Linked DNA regions of Homo sapiens: regions 2 and 3 are each linked to region 1. The links are contacts of gene promoters, found by promoter capture Hi-C in human tissues and cell types (Jung and others, 2019). All regions are on one chromosome and are shown on one strand. The core of a region is centred on a gene start or on the middle of the fragment in contact, and the rest is flanking DNA. Distances in the headings are between cores, read along the strand shown.

What was found. Contacts are between HindIII fragments. The study calls those that stand out against the background at their distance.
Region 2: a fragment that was not itself captured here is called in contact with the fragment with the promoter of G2E3 in region 1 in 2 of the 25 tissues and cell types used here (dorsolateral prefrontal cortex and mesendoderm cells).
Region 3: a contact is called between a fragment that was not itself captured here and the fragment with the promoter of G2E3 in region 1, in 1 of the 25 tissues and cell types used here (liver).

What each region holds. Positions count from the first base shown.
Region 1 is chr14:30,557,720-30,560,777 of GRCh38, forward strand. G2E3 (G2/M-phase specific E3 ubiquitin protein ligase) reads left to right here and starts at 1,439. Exons shown (of 15, transcript NM_017769.5): 1 at 1,439-1,553. It overlaps G2E3-AS1 (G2E3 antisense RNA 1), which reads right to left. Exons shown (of 4, transcript NR_151720.1): 3 at 3,018-3,058. RefSeq lists an enhancer at 1,105-1,294. The HindIII fragment of the contact is 13,115 bases long and covers 1-3,058 here.
Region 2 is chr14:30,506,754-30,509,811 of GRCh38, forward strand. The region is part of intron 3 of G2E3-AS1 (G2E3 antisense RNA 1); the gene reads right to left. All of the region lies in intron 1 of LOC105370432 (a long non-coding RNA gene), which reads left to right. Among named protein-coding and RNA genes, the nearest start is that of G2E3, 51 kb to the right of the region's middle. The HindIII fragment of the contact is 6,876 bases long and covers 1-3,058 here.
Region 3 is chr14:30,523,625-30,526,682 of GRCh38, forward strand. All of the region lies in intron 3 of G2E3-AS1 (G2E3 antisense RNA 1), which reads right to left. Among named protein-coding and RNA genes, the nearest start is that of G2E3, 34 kb to the right of the region's middle. The HindIII fragment of the contact is 4,279 bases long and covers 1-3,058 here.

The DNA of each region.
Region 1 (3,058 bases), core at 189-2,688:
GTATATCAGATGCTAAAGTATCATAACTTACATGTATTTAACCCCTTCCTTATTTGTAGACACAGATTATTTTCTATCTTCCACTGTTAAAAACAGTACATCAGTTAATAGCTTTACACACCCCCTGTGTCAGATTACCTGTAGCATAGGTTCTCAGAAATCTAGTAAACCTTTCAAACTGTATTTTTTTTTTTTTTTTTTTTTTTTTTTTGAGACAGAGCCTCGCTCTGTCGCCCAGGCTGGAGTGCAGTGGCGCAATTTCTGCTCACTGCAAGCTCCGTCTCCCGGGTTCACACCATTCTCCTGCCTCAGCCTCCCGAGTAGCTGGGACTACAGGCGCCTGCCATCACGCCCAGCTAATTTTTTGTACATTTAGTAGAGACGGGGTTTCACCATGTTAGCCAGGATGGTCTCGATCTCCTGACCTCGTGATCCACCCGCCTCGGCCTACCAAAGTGCTGGGATTACAGGCGTGAGCCACCGCGCCCGGCCCTCAAACTGTATTTTTGACAAAGGCTAAAGGTATGCTGTCATGGTTTGGTTTGTACTGATCCGTTTAGGTAATTCAATGTTATTAGATGTGAGGATGATCTGGTGGCAACATCAATCACAGCCATAAAGGTCAGAGTTATTTAGCGCCCCTCACCCCCTAGCATTTCCAGTCCTTCCTTTAGTTTCTGGAAGCTCCCAGATGTCTCTTCAGAAGCTTAAGACGTTTTGGATCAAAGACATACTGTGGTCCTCGATAAAGGAAAAGATACTGTTGTTTCAATAATCTCACGGGACAATACTTAATAATCTCGTAAAGTGAGCCCTTATCTGAGGGGGGAAATAAAATTTATTGCCTTCTAACACCATCAAATAGTTTATTTGAGACCAGGAATTGGTCCGACCACTTATTTTCAACTTTTGGCTGAATACGGGTGAACTTGGCTTTTTGTTTTCCCTAAACCCAGGACAGAAATAAATTAAAAGCCCTGACTGTGCCGGGATAGGACTGAGAGGCCCAGGAAAGGCTGCACTAAGTACTTGGAGGGTTTGTTTTTTTCCTTCTTGCTGCTGCTGCTGTTTCCTCGAGGATGAAGGGAAAGATAAAACCCTCCTGCCTCCGTTCGTGCTTTCATTCGCCCCATTCCTCGAAGGTGACGAAACTTCAGCACATCTCTGTCCATTTTGGAAAAAAGAGGATCCCCTCAAGAGCAAATAGGCGGAAACAATGACCCCGCGCCCGGAGTTTTTCTGAGCTCCTAAATAGGGAGAGAGACCCGACAAAACAAACAAGCGAAGGCGACACAGCCAGGTTAGCACCGAGCAGCAGCGCAGGAGCGCCAGAAGGGCGGGAGCACACGGGCCCTTCCCCACAGCCAGCGCCTCCGCGGGTCCCACCCCTCGAGGGCGGGGCCGACCGCTCTTTCCGGGTTTGCGAGCGGAAGTGGACGAATTTGAATCCTGTGGGCCGTTGAATGTGGCTGCTCGCGGTCGGCGTGCCCCGACGTACAGCGGGCCGGGAAAAGTGGCACTGAGGCTCTGGAACTTCTGCCCAGCTCTCCTTGGTGAGTAAATGGGGAACGGGAAGACGCAGAACGTTCCAGAGAGAGAAGCAGGACCGTGGGGTGGGAGAGGGTGTCAGGAGGCCGGACGTCGCAGCCGGGGCCTCGCAGTGCTTTTGGGGACGTCTGGTGCTGGGGCCCGGCCTGGAGACTAAGGGAATTCGGGGCACTGGGGGCGTTTGCTGGACCAGCGCTCTCGACGGTTGCGCACGCCAGCCAGCTCTCAGTGTTGAGGATTCGGAGGCCCTGCCGGTCCCCCGCGAGTAAACCTTGTTTATACGCATCCTCCGTGGCTTTTTTTAAACCCGTAGTTTATTATTTCCACCAATTCGGCTCGAATGCTGAAATTTTAACAGTAGTTAAATCTCACTGTGAAGGCGTTGCCACGTTTAAACAAATCTCTTTTAATGAAAGATGGAAGGTTGGGGCGGGTTTAGAATGAAAAGATGCTCTACGTGGCTCCGCGTTCCTCCTGAGAGAGATACCCGGGCAACCTTGATTAACTCTGGACTGCAGGGAAGTGACAGTCTTTGAAATGCCTGAGTGGGATTTAAACTGAAATTCGAGTGTCCTTTGTATTTAAAACCCGGATATTTTTCTTTCACGGTTGACATTTTTCATGTACCGCAAAAATCCGAGACTCCTATTTAAACCGGCTGTGGTAACAGCGGTGGTGATTAACTAGGGTCTTAGTTTGCAAACAATAGGGATAAGGTTTAGTTCCACCGCCCTGCCTTTTCGCCTCCCTCATTCATTGGCCAACTGGGTTATTATGGAGTCTTTTTGGAAGTAATCCACTAATGCTTTGAGCATCTGTTTCTTTGGGTTTTATTGTTTTGGGCTTTTTTTTTTTTAATTTTTAATGATGAACTATCTGAAATATGGAACTCTGTCTAACCCAGTAGTAAAGTCATGCCTTCTGGAATGGTTTAAAAGTGTGCCATAAATGTAAACTATAAATGGGAACTTTAAATGTGTACAAGTTTTACATCTTTATTAAAAATCGTCAGTTTTGTGTAGCTTAATACGAAAAGATATTTTAAGTTCCTTTTAAGGTTTTAACACCAGGATATTGTACCATTTAAATGTATAAATATATTTTTAAAAGTAGGACTTCATAATAATCAGAATAAAAACATTCCTTCATCCAGTGCTGGCTATTCCAGCACCCCCATTCTTCCTGCTATTGAACTTTTAAGTGTTAGCCAGGAAGAATAGACTTAAATACTCGGTGTTTAGGATAGTTAAAATATGAGCATTTTTCATATAGTGTCTTTGTAACAGAGACATTGGCTATACTTCTCTAAGCCTTTCTGCTCATTTCATATGTGCTGTCAACAAATGGTAATTTTTAAAAATTGATCGCTATATCCTAATCTCTTTATTTTTTTCTACCTGAATTATTTTCATTGGATTTTTGCTCTTTCTTAAATCAGTGAGTTTCAGAATTTATTGTGTATACACTACCTTGAAGGATTTGTTCAACAATGCTGATTCCTGCACTTCAG
Region 2 (3,058 bases), core at 364-2,863, 51 kb before region 1:
GATCCACCCTCAAGTTTACTGACTGTTGTTTTCTGCCATCTCTAATCTACTTTTAATCTCACCCATTTAATTTTTAAATTTAATTAATGTATTTTTCATTTCTATAATTTTTTGGCTCTTTTTTTAGTTTCTTGTTCTCTGCCAAAATTTTCAGTTAATTTGTTATTTTTCCTTTAAGTTTTTTTAATGCATTTATAATAGCAGCTTTTAAATATTTACGTTTTAATTGTAGCATCTGAATCATCTGGTGACTAGATCTTAATAATTGCATTTTCTCCTATAGATCACATTTTCCCACAAGTTTGCATACCTAGTTTTTTATCGTATTCTAGACATTACAAAAGCTATATTATAGAGACTCTGGAATTTATATTCTTCTTAAGAGCGCTGATTTTTGTCCTAGCAGGTAGTTAACTTGGCTAATCTCACAATCTGAACTCTATTTCTCTAGTAGTGGGCAGCAGCTAAAATTTCTGCCCAATTCTTTCATATTCCAGCTGCTGATTTTCACCAGGACACTGGAGTCTCTTGGGCATATATAGTAGTCAAGTGGGGGTTTGGGTGGAATTTATACACAAATTTTGAAGTTCCCTCCTTCCGCAGCTTCCTCCTTTCCAGGAATTTCCTCCTCAATCCTTCCAGCTTCTCTGCCAATCTAGAACTCACTTCCTCTTTTACCTCAAGCCAGTAAAACTGCAACTTTCTGTTACCCAGAGCCCATGAAGTTTGGTACTATGGGGCCTCAGAAAACAACACTCCAAAATGAAGGCCACAGAAGCAGACTCACAGGCAAAGGTTTTTCTTTGACCCCTCCTACCCTTGTATCTCTCAGTCCCGTTCTTCCCGGAGGCCAGCCACAGAAACTAGAAACCGTATTCCCCAAGACAGTCATAGAAACCAGAAGAACCCCTTCACCCCAAAGCCAACCATAACACCTAAAATATTCTGTGTAAGAACTAGCCATAAAGAAATTAATCTGACCTACGTTGTTTGCCTGTAGGTCATAAGACCCCCTATTCCAAAGAGGGTCCTGCCCCACACCCAAAAGGAAGGAATACTGCTCGGAGAGGCCAAGAATCCAGACAGACAGGCCATGCTGGGCTTCCCCACTCAGTCTATTACTATTATATTTTTGTCCAACCATATTTCTACATGGCTGTTTATAATTTATTGAACCTAAGCATTGAAATGGACAGTTTCCTCTATATCTTTGGGTCTTCATTCTGAAGGCTCCTGTGTATACTCATTAAATACATTTGTATGCCTTTTCTCCAATTAATCTGCCTTTGCCAAGTTGATTTTTCAGTGAACTTTCAGAGGACCAAGCTCTTGGTCCCTACAGGATGTACCCTCAGGCAAAAAGGTGCATACTCACAAATCTCACTGTTGCAATTCCTGTCTTTCAAAGGTAGACTCTCTCTGGTATCTGAGTGTTTTGTTGGTCTCCAGTACTTTCAAATGGGTGGTTAGGGTGTGGAGAGAGGTGTAAATATATCATATATAATAGTTATCTGTGCGAAGGTTATTCTGGTTAAATAACTCTGCCATTTCTGAAAGTCTGAGTAAATACATATTTTCACTTTCTGCTTTTTTCACTTAACATTATATCATCTGGCTTTTTGTGTGTTATTTACTGTGTGATGTTGCTTTATGTGCTCTGATTAGCTGTATTCATTACATCTGTTGTTCATCTGGATTCAGAGCCTTTAATTCTACCTTCACATTTCCTATGTGAAGTCCTAACATTGTTTTGTACTGTCAGTTCAGTCTGTAAAACCTGGCAAAGCAGTTAGAAAATGAAACACCAGTCATTTTACGTCATGAAGCCAAATTGAGTATTTTAATCAATTCAACTTTTAATAATATGATTTGATCCACATAATAGTATATTTCTAATTTACAGTCAACAAAACCATTTCCTTGCTTTTCTCATAGTAAAAAATATTTCATTTCTCTGATTTTAAAAAGTTGATTTTTGTTCTTCCATTATATAACTTTATGGGGAAGTGTTGTTTTTCTCTTTTATTTTTCTCAGCAAATTTTAGCATAAGAGTAATTTGTAGCATTTTGGAGTTATCATGGCAAAAAGTTTACTTTTCTACAGATCACATGAAAGTTTATTTAAGAAAGACTCAGCTAAAGTTTCTTTATTCATTTATTCAGCAGATGTTTCATAAGGGTTTATTGCATGCGAGACAGTATGGGAGGTACAAGGGATATTAGAATAAATAAGACACCATTCAGAGCCTCCAAAGGCTTATAATCTCTAAGGAAAAACAGAGAAGTCATTTAAAATAACAATAAATTTAAATAAGTACTATCAGTGATAAGGATAAGAAGAAGAAATGAAAAAATTCACAGGAAGGAAGTGTTTCCTTCTGCTTGGAGAGATCTAGAGAGTCTACTTAAGTGTCAACAGTTGTGCATAATCTTGAAAAATGACTGTTTGCCAGAAGCAAGAACTTGAGGAAAAATACCACACATCTGGTACACTGCAAGTACTTTGTCATAATAGGATATACTAAGCAAGCAGAGAAATGGCAGAATATGAGACTAGAAAAGCAGGCAGGGGACAAATGAATAACAGCCCTGTGAATTATATTTGGTATAGAAGTATCTGAATTTTATTCTGTGGATGATGAGAAGTTATTGCAAGATTTTAAGTAGGATTAACATAACGAGATTTGAGTCTTTGAAATATTACTCTGACTGCAGAGTGGAGAATGGATTACATCAAAGGCTGATACAGACGGGATTTGGCCCATAAGCCATATTGTTTGCCAACACCTGGAATAGATGATTCCTCCCAAAGCAACGAGATTAGCTAGAAACCTATTGCAATAGTCCAAGTGAGTTATAATGAGAGTTTGAATCAGAGCAGTGAAAATGAATGTGCAGAGGAGGAGAAAATTCTAGAAACATTAAGAAAGACTTGGTGACCAATTGGATTTTGTGGCTACTTGGGGAAGAAATTTAGGAGGACCTTCTTGAACAATACTCCACAAGCATAGGCAACAAAGGAAAAATGGACAAATGGGATCACATCAGGTTGAAAAGC
Region 3 (3,058 bases), core at 297-2,796, 34 kb before region 1:
TGAAGACTATATGCTAGGCACAAAATTAAGTATATGTGTTCAACAAATACTTACTGAGTGCTTTTTATGTGCCAGGTAGGTCATAAATCTTACAATAATCTAATGAGTTATATTCCCAATATATCCAATATGAGTTACAGTCCCCTGACTTTGTACATGAGGAACCTGAAGTTTAGGAGTTAGGCAACATTCACATCATCACCTTTTTCATAGCTAGTACAGCTTTGATTTCAACCTAGATATCTTTGATTCAATAAGCTGTGTCAAAGGTGGAACTAAAAAAGTATTTGGTCAGGATGCAAGATTTCTGAATGCCTGTATCTTGTCCTACCATTACCTTACCTTTCCTTCCTTTCCCTTTCCTCCATCCAACCAAGCTTTATCCTCCCTAGCCCCTTTCCATAACAAAAATGCCCAAGGGATACAAGCACAGGGCCCAAAGCCAGGTAAATGTACTTTTTTACTCTGATGCTTTTGTCCAAAGGTCCAGTGTCTGAACTAATCAGGAATCAGTGGCCAAGGCCCTTTTCATAGCTTGGTAGTCCCCAGACTGCTTTCCTAATAAACTATCTGAAAGTTGTTAACTGGTATTGTACCAGAGAAAAAGTAGTATCTTTTCCTCACCCATTGCAAGGCTCATGGCTGAGGCCCCCGTAAAAAAAACACAGATTAACAAGAGAAAAGTTTACAAATTTAAATTCATGTGACATAGGGAGCCTTCAAAAATAAAGACCCAAAGAAACAGAAAACGTGCATGTTTCCATGGTAGGGTTTGATGAAGAGTAGACAATTGTGTAGAAGTATGATTGGACAAAGAGGGTAAGATCTAATGATAATAAAATCAGGGGAACTTAGCAAGGCCTGCCTGTTCAGATTCTTCTCGGTATCTCTGTATTTTCAAGGCTAAGGATGTTCCTTTTCTCCAGATAGAGGGAAGGTATGATCTGCTTCAGGGGAGAAGGACGAGAGGAAGATGAGAATGGCCTTTCTGCTTGTGCTATTTTTTCAAATGCCAAGGTGTCATATGTTGGGGTAGCATGTCCTAAACTCCACCAGTATGCAAAATTAAAGTATTCCATAACCAAAAACATCAGAGAAGTACTGCACTGCATAGTTCCCTCTTGGGGTTTAAATGTGAATATTCACAGATTAAAAACTGAGAAGCCTCACAGGAAGATAAAGATGGGTAAATCTGCTCAAGACTGCTTTTCTCAAGTTTGTTTGACCAAGAATTTTCTTATCTTAAAACTCCTAATAGGGAGCAGAATAATGTCCCATGTCTGGGAAACAGTGGCTATCACAACAATAGGCTACAATGCTAAAAACAGGCCTCCTCCAGTGTTCCATTGCAGGAAAGCCTTCAGCACTTACAAAATTGACTTTCTCTGACCCCCAAATATTTCATGTGTTCACTTGTCCTAAATGCCAGACATTCAGCATGTGGCATAAGAATATGAGTACAAGCCTCACACTCATGAAAAATTATAAAACACAAATTAAATGTGATCACTGCTTCAGCACTTTACAATGTAAGCATCAATTACTTGTTAACTATGATTTCCCAAACAAACCCAATGTAATTGAATCAGGAAATATCAATATCCAGACCCACATGATTCTTACTAGCCATAAACTATAACAAAAAAAAAAATCAAAGAGAAAAAGAAAAAATCCTGGTTTCAGCTTCACTGGGGTGCTCGCCGATCTATGCCCGCTGTCATGAGTGCCCCACCTGTGAACGTAAATTTCACTTGGAAGATAGAGCATGTAAGGAGGTTAACTGTGACCTAGAATTTCAAATCTGAGGGGACGGGGGAGCAGATGTGGACTCCAACGCTTATCCACACTGCCTTTCTCTAGAGAGTACTTGAAACACTCCTGTTTTCTTTGGGATTTTAGAAATTGCATTTCTGGCACCTCCACTAGCAATTCTTTCCTGAAACCCCATTCTCCACCTCACATCTATCCCATATATTTAAAACCTCAAGTTTTCTCTACCTTTCTTTGGTCTCTGCATTCCTGGCACCAAACTCTGAAGTGACCGAAAGTTCCCTCTGAGAAACAGCGAAACAGCGAAACAGCGAAACAGCTCCCATGCCTAACTTTTGTATTTTTAGTAGAGACAGGGTTTCACTATGTTGTTTGGCCAGGCTGGTCTCAAACTCCTGACCTCAGGTGATCCGCCTGTGTCAGCCTCCCAAAGTGCTGGGATTATAGGCGTGAGCCACCACACCTGGACCATGCCTTCTTATGAGCAAGGAAAACCACATTAATATTAGGCAATTTGCATAGCCGTAATCTGATGCACTCTCTCTGTTTCTTCATCCCCAGTGGTATTCCTGGTTGTGGGTAGCCTAGGGCTGTCAGAGAGGCCTTGTTCCCACATTGCTTCAGCTGGAAGGAATGACCCAGGCCAGTGAACTGGTCTGCTATTGGTGGTGTGGCTCAAGGGATCTAATGCTATGCATGTGCTCATAATACAACCCAGATCTGCACTGCTGCTTTCAGCTGAAGTCCATAACAGAGGCATCTGGAGAAAGCAGACCCCAAAAATGGGAGAGGAAAACAAGAAAAAGCCTCATGCTTTCAAGCTTGCTAGAGTATTTGTTAAGTTCACATGGAGAAACAACAATCTTTGCAGTGAAAAACTGTAGAAGGAATTATCATAAGAGTATTTTTATCACCGTTACTTGCTAAGTTAATGGATTGTGCTTTAATTCTTGAATGGTAGAAAATACTAAAAGAGCTGATGAAGTTCTCGGCCTTAAAAGACACAGTCTCCGAACTTCTCTAATTTTATTTTGATACTTATATGTGTCCCACAGTAAGTATTTGCTGCTAACACTACATAATGAGTGGCAATCTCAAAGTTACAATAAATTATGCATAATTTAGTCTCTTAGAAGGTCTATAAATACAGCGTGAAGTGTTCAGCTTGTTATTTGATGCAACATCTGAAATCAGATTGCTCTGATGCAAATGTTTATCTCAATGTTATAATTGTGGCATGAATTCTTCTGAATTTATTTTGTTTGCAAAGAGCATTTTATTAATTAGT